2 separate regions of the Homo sapiens genome follow, and region 1 is linked to region 2. Evidence: promoter capture Hi-C in human tissues and cell types (Jung and others, 2019). All regions are on one chromosome and are shown on one strand. Each heading gives the region's core, a stretch centred on a gene start or on the middle of the fragment in contact. The rest is flanking DNA. Distances are from core to core; before and after follow the strand shown. Region 1 holds the start of CEBPB (CCAAT enhancer binding protein beta). Region 2 holds the start of BCAS4 (breast carcinoma amplified sequence 4).

Region 1 (5,500 bases), core at 2,634-5,133, 600 kb after region 2:
TGTGGACCTCAATGTGTGCTTTTAGAAATGGGTCTAGCACCTTCTGTGGGGTACTGTGGATGAGAGCAAGATGTGAGTGTGTGAAGAACTGACTCAACGCTGGTTCCAGGACAGCACTGGGGAAACAGAAGCGAAGCTGTGGGGCAGACGGGGGCGGAAGAGGGGCACCGTCTGGCCAGGCTGCTTCCCTCTCACCTCATTTGGGTGAGCAGTGGCCACCAGCCAACTCTTGGTGACAAAGGAGGGAGCAGGGATTTGAGATTTGTTCCTCAATTTCGACCCTCTCCACCTCCCTCCTTCCCTAGGTCCAGCCCCTCAGCCTCTGCCTTCAGCAAGTAAATCCTTGAGGTCAAGCCCACATTGCTGTCGCTGCTACTGACAGAAACCATCGAGACCAGTGGGGCTTGGGACTGAACTGACTTCGAGGCTTTGAAGGCATGCCCGGCCAGTTGTCCAGTTGCCCAGGGCTGGGAGGGGACGTGGTCAGGGCCACGCTGCAGGTCCCAGGTTGAAGTGAGGTTATCTGTGTCCAGCAATCTGCATAGCCCTCGAGCCACCATCAGGAGACACTGGCATTAGGGAGGTGGAGCTTATAGGAATCCTCCGCTTTGTGGCGGTGGGGGATGAGTGTCGCTGTCTGTTCCCCACATCCCAGGCTCCCACAGGGAAAGCACAACCAGGCCCCCAAAAGGAAAAGGAGGGGCAAAGCATTTCCCATTCGCGAACCACGGTATCAGCAACTGCTCCTGAGATCCCAGACCGCCCCAGGTCCTTGGCAAACCAGGCTACGATGCCTGCTGCCCCTGAATTCCTCAGGGCAGGGCAACCCCCAACCAGTGTCTTGCCCATAGGGATCGGACAGCCCAAAGCTGCTCCCCACCTCTAAAAACAGGCGTCATAACAATCCCCACCTTCCCAAAGGTTATTGTGAGGTCTAAATGGGATGGGGCAGGTCCAGTGTTTACCAGATGCCGGCCCCTGGCAAGTACTGGCCACACTGGCGCTGCACTGGAGACTGGGGTGCCAAATGCCAGCAGCTTCCCAGCAAAAAATAATAACAAGAGCAAGCGCTTATATAACACTTCTTGCGTGCCAGGCACTGTGGGACGCTGTACATGTATCCACTCACATCCATCTACATCCTCAACTCTCAGGAATGCCATCCAGGGCTGGATGGGAGTAGGGGGTGCGGTGAGAAGCCGGAAGGGGCAAAGGGATCAGTGGGCAGGGAAGAGGAGCCTGTCCCAGGGAATCAGGGCTAGCAGCCCCACGTTTGTGCCTGGGCTCAGCCACCTTGAGCAGGCAGGTGAGGTGGGCTCAGTGTCCAAGTCTGGGCAAAGAGAGCAAGTGATGAGCCTCCCATCCTCAGGAAAGGTAATCAAAGTGTGGGAACCCCTCCCCCACCTCTCTCCACCTGGCCTGGCCTCTCCCCTCCTGCTGGCCAGGGACACACAAACACAGACTCGCCCACACACCCAGGCTCCCCTCTTTAAAATACACATGTATACACAAACTGTGTTTTAAACAACCCACCCCACTACACTGACCAAAAGCATCTGCCCTGACTCGGGCTCAGCAGGACCAAGACCTGAACCCCCTCCTCCTACAGTCACAGGCCTGCCTACCTAGTCCCCAAACACAGGGCAGGGGTCACAGACCTCCCAGCCCTTCCAAACCCAAGCCTGACACTCGGGACCAGCCAGAGGCTCCGGAATCTCTTCTCAAGCAGGGTTCCCAGCCACCCGTCCCGGCGCCTAGGGGCTCTGAGTCAGCCTGAATGCCTGACCCATTACTCTTCTCCCCTTTCCCCCGGGGCTGGAACCCCATCTCAAGCAGACCCTGTGTGTGTGGGAGGGGGAGTAGCAGAGGAGGCAGAAAAACCAGCTGCAACACCCCCACCCAACCACCAAAACCTCCAAAAATAACAGCAGCCCCCCACACACAACCCCCTACACACCAGAAACGCAAAAACAAAATCCTACAAATCCAAAATAAAGTAAAAAAATAAAAAACAAAAGCCAATTACTGCCCCCAAAAGGCTTTGTAACCATTCTCAAAAAAAAGTTTATTAAAAGTGTTCTTAATGCTTGAAACGGAAAAGATTCCCAAAATATACAGACGCCTCTTTTCTCATAGAAATAGATTATTTTTTATAATACAAAAAAAGACCAAAAAACAAAACAAAACAAAACATCAACAGCAACAAGCCCGTAGGAACATCTTTAAGCGATTACTCAGGGCCCGGCTGACAGTTACACGTGGGTTGCGTCAGTCCCGTGTACACACGCGTTCAGCCATGTTTAAACCGATTGCATCAACTTCGAAACCGGCCCGCCCGCCGGCGCCTGGAGAGGGGCAGAGGGAGAAGCAGAGAGTTTATCATTCATCTGTACACATAGACGTTTCTTCTTTAAATAACACCACGGGCGGGAGCCCCATCTGCATGTGCGGTTGGTTTGGACAAAAATATAGATATATATATATAATAAAATATTAAAATTACCGACGGGCTCCCCGCGCTGCCAAGTGCCCCAGTGCCAAAGTTTTGCCGGCGCCGCCGGGGGCGGGGGCGAGGGCGCGGGCGCGGGCGCTCCCCGGAGTCTCAGCCCCGGCCGGCAGGGGGACGCGCGCGGGGGCCGCGCTAGCAGTGGCCGGAGGAGGCGAGCAGGGGCTCGGGCAGCTGCTTGAACAAGTTCCGCAGGGTGCTGAGCTCGCGCGACAGCTGCTCCACCTTCTTCTGCAGCCGCTCGTTCTCGGCCGTGAGCTCCAGGACCTTGTGCTGCGTCTCCAGGTTGCGCATCTTGGCCTTGTCGCGGCTCTTGCGCACGGCGATGTTGTTGCGCTCGCGCCGGATCTTGTACTCGTCGCTGTGCTTGTCCACGGTCTTCTTGGCCTTGCTCTTGACCTGCGAGGGCGCCGGCGCGGCCCCCGCGTAGCAGGCGGTCGGGGGCGCCTTGGCGTCAGCGGGGCTCGGCGTGCCGGGCGGGCTGGACGAGGAGGACGTGGAGAGGCTCCCGCTGCTGCCGCTCGGCACCGCCTGGTAGCCGAGGTAAGCGCGCAGCGCGTACGGGAAGCCCGCCGCCATGCCTGCGCCGCCGCCCGGCGCCCCGGCCTCCTCCTTCCGCTTGCAGTCCGCGGGCTCGAAGCCCGGCTCCGCCTTGAGCTCGGCGGGCGGCGGCGGCGGCGGGGGCGGTGGGTGCAGGGGCGCGAAGCAGCCGGGGTGCAGCGCGCCCTTGGCGGCCCCCAGGCGCCCCAGGCTCACGTAGCCGTACTCGGCCGGCTTCTTGCAGTTCTTGCCCCCGTAGTCGTCGGAGAAGAGGTCGGAGAGGAAGTCGTGGTGCTGCCCGGAGGAGGCGGGCGCGGGGGCGGGCGCGGGCGGAGCCGCCTCGAAGGTGTCCGTGGCCGTGGCGGGCGCCGGGGCCTGCGGCGCGCCCAGCGGCTCCAGGTACGGGCTGAAGTCGATGGCGCGCTCGTGGTCGCCGATGCTGCCCAGCTCGCCGGCGGGGGGGCGCGGCCCGGGTCTGGCCGCGGGGGGCGCCGCGGGGGCCGCCTTGCCGCCGTACGCAGCAGCCAAGCAGTCCGCCTCGTAGTAGAAGTTGGCCACTTCCATGGATTTAAAGGCAGGCGGCGGCGGCGGCAGGGGGAGACATGCTGGGTCCCAGGCCACCAGGCGTTGCATGAACGCGGGTGCCCGGGGAGGGGGCCTGGGGCTGCCCGCTCCGGCCGGCCCGCAGGTGGCGCGGCCTCCCTGCTCTGAGCTGTCGCCGCTGCGTCGCTGCTGCTGCTGCCGCCGCTGCCGGGGTGGCCGCTATTAGTGAGGGGGCTGGTGGCTGGACCCTCGGGTGGGTCCCCTTCCCAGTCCCGTGCGCGGCTCTGACTCGCTAAAGTTTCTCCTGAGCCCGGTTATTTATAAGGGCGGCCCGTAGCAACCGCTGCGTCACGCCGGCCCCTCCCGCCGCGCCGCCGGGACGCGAAGGACACGGCCGCGGCCGCCCGAGACCCCCGGGAGGACGGCGGCAGGGCGCAGCGGAGGGACCGGGCACCCGGAGCGCGTTTTCGGGGGGCCCCCGGGACGCAGGGGCGGCCTCACGCCCCCTGCCCACCCCCGCCCGGCCGCCCCGGGATTGGGAGCGAGAGGGGGCGGTGCGACCCCGCCCCCGGACCGCCCCTCTGGGCTGGAGGCTGTCCTGGAAGGCGGGGGAATCGGAGGAGGGGGCGACCTGATCGCCTTCCCCCCGAGACGCGGCCCCGGCCCGCCCCCTGCTGGAGGAGGCGGAGGTTTCAGGAGGGCCGAGCAGAGCCCCGACGGCCGACCAGGGTCGGCTCCCCGGGCCGAACCCTGGAGACCCCAGCCCGCAGCTCTAGCTCCAGGAGAAGCGACCCATCTCCGTGGCCCTTCCTCCCGTAAACTCCCACCTCCTCCCCAGGTCCCCGGCTTTAGAAAGAAGACTTGACGCCTGTGACGACTCCCCTCTTAAGCCACAGACAATATGAGGACCCCGGGGGTCGGCGCGACCGGGCAGGATCGCGCCCCGCTTGGGGCTGGACCCTGGTCCACGGAGCCCCGCCCCTAGCCCCGCCCACCACACCTGCCGCCTGCTCGAGGCTTGGACACGCCCGGGTCTTCTCTTGCCCCGCGCTGCGCCACCCGACCTGGGCCCTGGGATGGGGCAGGGGCGGGGGGTGCTCGGCCCTGCCACACTGTGTGACCTTGGGTGAGTCACTTCACTTCTCCCAGCTGCAATCCATGAAGGGTGTCGCTACTGTCAGTGGTGGTGGCATTGTTCCCACCAGACTCCCAAACCTAAGGCTTACGTTGTGGGCTGCACATCAGAGAGAACGGGACCCCCACGGATTGTGCCAGTGGAGGCCCAGAGAGAGCATGGCGTGGCATACCAAGGTCACATGGCCGCATGTCCCCCATTCATCCCAAATGAAATGCCCTCATCTGAGCCCTAAGACCTATTGCCAGTCCCAGAGGCCAAAAACTTCTGTTTCTGAAGTTGCTAGGGAGGGACTTAAGCGAGGCCTCACGGGAGGGGGTGGTATGCAGGAAAGAGAAGGAAAGAGAAAGATAAGTTTTTACCAAGTCCCTGCCCTGTGCTTACGGTGGGCCTGCACCCCGAGGTTCAACTTTTTTCACCCCACCAGGAAGATGCTTTTGCTGCTGCCATTTCACAGACGGGAAAGCGACAACGGCCCGCCTGGACTTGAACACAGGCCCAAGGCCTTCTGACCACTTGCCCGCCTCTGCTGGGTAGGCTCAGGTTAGAGGGCCCTTTGCCCTCCCGGACCCATTCCTAGGCCATTGGGGCAGCTCCCTGGGCCCACCTCTCTGCCACTCCTAGCCCAGGCCACCTAGGCAGGAGCTCCCAGCCTGCCCGGGGCTGATCCCCAGCCCACTGACCCCAGCCCTGGCCCCAGCGGGCAGGCGGGCATTGCTCAACCTTTGGTGTTATCTGCTGAGCTGGGGTGACCTCCGCCCCCAAGAGCTGGAGAA
Region 2 (5,363 bases), core at 2,802-5,301:
ACTCAGGATGCTAAAGGCAGTGAAAAGTCGCAGACAACCTAAATGTCTGTGCCTGAGTCCCTGGGACACTAGACCAAAGTATGCTTGGGGAGCGTGGAGCCTCCCCCAGGACCCTGCCTGGCAAAACGCACCAGCCCTGAACCATTTATGAATGATTCATAAATTACGGTCCATCCACATGAAGTCATTTATGCCATGAGAGCCTCTGTTTGCTGACCTATAAAATCAACATAACACCATCCCAGTCACCAGGTCACTGCCGTGACACAATGACATAAGCCATGAACACAGTTTAGCAAACTGGTGCCACACAGTATGTGCTCAGGAATGGGAGCAATTACTATTTCATCATGGGACACTAGGAAGGCAGAGGGTGACGGAGACCTAGGCTCTCCAACATGGCAGCCACGCGTCTCATGGGACTACTGAACACTTCAAATGTGCCCAGTCCAAGCTGAGATGGACTGAAAGTTCAGTATCAAAAGCCTGATTTTGAAAACTCAGGACAAAGAACAGAATGTAAAATTTCATTAACTTTGTACTAGTGATCATATGTTGAAATATTTTGGATATGCTTTTTATTTTTATTTTTTTATTAACTAGAGACGGGGGCCTCACTATGTTGCCCAGGCTGGTCTTGAACTCCTTGGGCTCAAGTGATCCTCCAGTCTTGGCCTCCCAAAGTACTGGGACCACAGGCGTAAGCCATTGCTCCTGGCCCAGATATACTGTTATTTTAAATATATTGAAATTAATTTCACCTGTTTCTTTTCTTTTTTAATTCTTTTGGGTTTTTTTTGTTTGTTTGTTTGTTTTGAGACAGAGTCTCACTCTATTGCCCAGGCTGGAGTGCAGTGGCATGATCTCGGCTCACTGCAACCTCCACCTCCCAGGTTCAAGCGTTTCTTATGCCTCAGCCTCCCAAGTAGCTGGGATTACAGGCTCATGCCACCACATCTGGCTAATTTTTGTATGTTTAGTAGAGACAGGGTTCCACCATGTTGGCCAGGCTGGTCTCAAACTCCTGGCCTCAAGTGATCCGCCTGCCCTGGCCTCCCAAAATGCTGGAATTACAGGTATGAGCCATGGTGCCTGGCCACCTGTTTCTTTTTCATGTGGCTCCTAGAACACTAAAAATTGCGTAGGTGGCCACGCACAGTGGCTCACACCTGTAATCCCAGCACTTTGGGAGGCCGAGGCGGGCAGATCACCTGAGGCTAGGAGTTCGAGACCAGCCTGACCAACATGGAGGAACCCTGTCTCTACTAAAAATACAAAATTCGCTGGGCGTGGTGGCGCATGCCTGTAATCCCAGCTACTCGGGAGGCTGAGGCAGGAGAATCGTTTGAACCCAGGAGGTGGAGGTTGCGGTGAGCCGAGATCACACCATTGCACTCCAGCCTGGGCAACAAGAGTGAAACTCTGTCTCAAAAACAAAAAAAATTGCATAGGTAGCTCACATTTGTAGCTCCAATTATATTTCTATTGGACAGTGTTTATGGATACATGCTCATGTTATTTTTAATTTTTAAATTTTTGTTCGTGTTATTTTTAATTTTTTATATTTTAACATTTTTTTGTAGAGACAGGGGTTTCCCTGCGTTGCCCAGACTGGTCTTGAACTCCTGGTCTCAAGTGATCCTCCCACCTCAGCTTCCTAAGTCGCTGGAATTACAGGCATAAGCCACTGTACCCTGCCTCCATGCTATTTTTTTAAATTGAGATATAATTCACAAACCACAAAATTCACCCTTTCAAAGTGTACGATTCAGCAGTTTTCAGTATATTCACAAATTTGTGCAACCAACACAACTATCTAACATCCAGAACATGTTCATTACACCAAAACGAAGCCCCATACCTTCCCATTAGTAGTCCCCACACATTTTTCCATGCTATTTTGAGTAAAGAAAAGCAAGTTGCAGGACAGTATTACAGCAGCAAGTGAGGTTTCATTTAAAACTAATATAGATGGGCCAGGCATGGTGGTACATGCCTATAATCCCAGCACTTTGGGAGGCTGAGGCCAAAGGATCTCTTGGGCCCAGGAATTCAAGACCCGCCTGGGCAACATAGTGAGATCTCGTCTCCACAAAATAACTTTGTTTTAAAAGTTAACCTGACATGGTGGTGCGCACCTGTGGTCCTGGCTATGCGGGAGGCTGAGGTGGGAGGATCACTTGAGCCCAGGAGGTTGAGGCTACATTGAGCTATGATTGTGTCACTGCACTCCAGCCTGGGTGACAAAGTGAAACCCTGTCAAAAAAAAAAAAATTAAAAACGTCTGTTCAAAAATTATTTTAAAAATATGTGGAGATGGCTGGGCGCTGTGGCTTACGCCTGTAATCCCAACACTTTGGGAGGCCGAGGAGGGTGGATCACGAGGTCAAGAGATAGAGATCATCCTGGCCAACATGGTGAAACCCCGTCTCTACTGAAAAATACAAAAATTAGCTGAGCATGGTGGCACACGCCTGTAGTCCCAGCTACTCGGGAGGCTGAGGCAGGAGAATTCCTTGAACCTGGGAGGCGGAGGTTGCAGTGAGCTGAGATCATGCCAATGCACTCCAGCCTGGTGACAGAGCAAGACTCCATCTCAAAAAAAAAAAAAAAAAAAAAAAAAATATATATATATATATATATATATATATATATATATGGAGAAAAAGAAAAAGAAAAAAGAGAAAACTCATATATATGTATATATATATATATGGAAAGATATTTTATGGTTTTTTTTTTTGAGAGGGAGTTTTGCTCTTGTTGCCCAGGCTGGAATGCAATGGCTGATCTCAGCTCACTGCAGCCTCCGCCTCCCAGGTTCAAGCGATCCTCCTGCCTCAGCCTCCCAAGTAGCTGGGATTACACACCCGGCTAATTTTTGTATTTTTAGTAGAGACGGGGTTTCACCATGTTGGTCAGGCTGGTCTCGAGCTCCTGACCTCAGGTGATCCACCCGTCTCGGCCTCCCAGTAGTGCTGGGATTACAAGCGTGAGCCACCAGGCCTGGCGAGATAGATTTTTTTTTAAATGTCTCACTCTGTCGCCCAGGCTGGAGTGCAGTGGCATGATCAAGCCTCACTGCAGCCTCACTCTTCCCCGTCCCCTATCCCCATCCCAAGCAATCCTCCTGCCTCAGCCTCCCAGAATGCTGGGACCACTGGCATGAGCCAATACTCTGCCTAGGCAGATACAGATATCTACATTTGTAAATGCATTTTAAATGTCCGGAATGATTTATACCAAACAGTTAATGCTGGTTTTCTAAGAAAACTAGAATTGGGGTGGGAGAGAAAAGAGAAAGGGGTGCATAGCCTTTATGTTAAATACTCCTGTACTGCTTTTGTGGTTTAAAAAGAGAATGGGTTGAATTTCTGACCGTAAATAACTCCTAGTGAACTCAGACAAATAACTTTTTCACAACAGCGTCGACAGATGCCTCCAGCCGGAAGGTAGAGGGTCTCGTTTTAGATCTGCTTTTCACTTGGTGCTTTTAAAATAGAAAGCGCAGACAGAGGCGTGGTGTTTTCGCTCCGAGCTGCAGCAGCGCAGCGCGGCCCGCACAGCCGCAGCCTGAGGCGCCGCTCGGCCCGGGCACCGCTCGGAGGTAGCCGGGGCAGCAGAGGTCCCGGGGTCCGCCTCTCCCAGGGCCGGCCTGGCAAAGGGCGGCGCCTGAGGACCCGGCGGATGCTGGGGGACCCGGGTGGGGAGGGAAAGCGAGCCTGGGCCTCCGGGGCCCGGTGTCGCCCGGAGGAGCGAGCAGGGACGACCCGCTGCACATCTCTGCGTGGCGCCCCGCAGCCACCCTTCAGGAAGGGGGGAATCCCCGGGCCCCCCACTCCGGGAGCGAGAGGATGCTCCGGGGAAGCCGAGGGTCCGGAGCCCGGACCCCTAACCGCGAGAACCCTCTCCTCCAACTCCACAGCCCCGTCCCCTACCTCGGCCCCAGGCTCGGGGGTCAGGAAGAGCGCGAGCTCGCGCGCCCCGCTGCGCATGGGCTCCGGCTGATCAGCGTCCACGAGCAGCATCAGGAGGGCGACGGGGTCCGGCTGGCGGAGGCTGCCTGGGAGCCCGTGGTTGCGCCCGGGCCTCGGAGCCCCGCCCCCGGTCCGCTGCATGCCCCGCGGACCGCCTGGCGGAGGCGGGGCAGGTGCGCTCCCGGCGGTCGCGGCTCGCAGCTCCAGGAGCGCCGGGCCGAGCGGGCAGCGCCACCCAGTGGCGAGCGGCGCGCGCTGCGCCCGCCCCCGCAGCACCTGGGCATCAGTGCTTTGCAAACTCGCTTGCAGATGGCAGTCACCTGGAGCTCTTTTAGAATTTCCCAAGCCTGGACCACACCGTCTCTGGGTTAAGACCTGGGCATCAGGATCTTTTGATGTTTGTTAGGTGGTTCCAACCAGATTGTTGACCCAAAGCTAAATTTGAGAACTATTGGGGCAAGCCACCCCTCCCCATCGGAATCCCGGTAGAGTACAGGCTCCCGGCCCCGGACCCGGCCGTAAAATAGAATCCCCGGGAAGCTTTTAAAAGCCCGGAAGCCAGGCCTCGCACCAGGCCGATTAAGTTGGAATCCTTCGGAGTGGGGCTTGGGCATCGGTAGTTTCTAAAACTCCCCGGGTGATTCTAACGGGCGTCCGGGTTAGAGAGGCGCTAGCTTAGAGGAAGCCCAAAGCCGCCCGCCCCCCACCCGTTCCCATCCTACTAAAGCATCTAGTTTGCATCGGGCGGAGGGTCCTGGAATTTAGGGAAGGCCGAGTGTGACGGTCCTCGTCTTCCTCTTCGGTGCGGATTTTAAAATAAACTTCACCAGGAAACTATTGAGCGCACTACATTTCACAACCGCACCCACTCCCTCCATGCCCTCGGAGGCCGGCCTAGATAGACCCTTTACAAGCCTTGGGGCTGAAGAGAGCGAGGTGCGCCTCATCTCCCACCCCAACAGTGCTAATGAGGAAAGTACTAAAAGGCAAATAGGTATAAGACAAGTCTGAAGTTTTGATTTTTCGTTTGATGACTTATTTTTATTTTTAATTAATTAATTTTTTTTTTTTGGAGACGGAGTCTCGCTCTGTCGCCCAGGCTGGAGTGCAGTGGTGCGATTTCGGCTCACTGTAACTTCCACATTCCGGGTTCAAGCAATTCTCCCCCTCCCTCAGCCTCCCGAGTAGCTGGGATTACAGGCGCCTGTCACCACGCCCGACTAATTCTAATTTTTGTATTTTTTAGTAGAGACGGGGTTTCGCCATGTTGGCCAGGCTGCTCTCGAACTCCTGACCTCAGGTGAGCCACCTGCCTCGGCCTCCCAAAGTGCTAGGATTACAGGCGTGGGCCAGCGCCCCCTGCCTGCTGACTTTTCTTTAAATGTT

What was found. The method cuts DNA at HindIII sites, captures the fragments that hold promoters and counts their contacts. A contact is called where the count stands out against the background at its distance.
Region 1: the fragment with the promoter of CEBPB here is called in contact with the fragment with the promoter of BCAS4 in region 2 in 1 of the 25 tissues and cell types used here (IMR-90 fibroblasts).

Annotation. Positions count from the first base shown.
Region 1 is chr20:50,189,213-50,194,712 of GRCh38, reverse strand. It overlaps CEBPB (CCAAT enhancer binding protein beta), which reads right to left and starts at 3,883. Exons shown (of 1, transcript NM_005194.4): 1 at 2,045-3,883. The coding sequence starts at 3,679. The coding sequence ends at 2,642. It overlaps CEBPB-AS1 (CEBPB antisense RNA 1), which reads left to right and starts at 2,644. Exons shown (of 7, transcript NR_125739.1): 1 at 2,644-3,049; 2 at 3,291-3,445; 3 at 4,428-4,715; 4 at 5,152-5,257. RefSeq lists an enhancer at 615-1,176 and silencers at 2,541-2,650, 3,071-3,510, 3,651-3,860, 3,687-3,981, 3,941-4,350. The HindIII fragment of the contact is 25,644 bases long and covers 1-5,500 here.
Region 2 is chr20:50,793,749-50,799,111 of GRCh38, reverse strand. It overlaps BCAS4 (breast carcinoma amplified sequence 4), which reads right to left and starts at 4,051. Exons shown (of 5, transcript NM_198799.4): 1 at 3,939-4,051. The coding sequence starts at 4,028. RefSeq lists an enhancer at 122-201 and a silencer at 3,499-4,318. The HindIII fragment of the contact is 12,365 bases long and covers 1-5,363 here.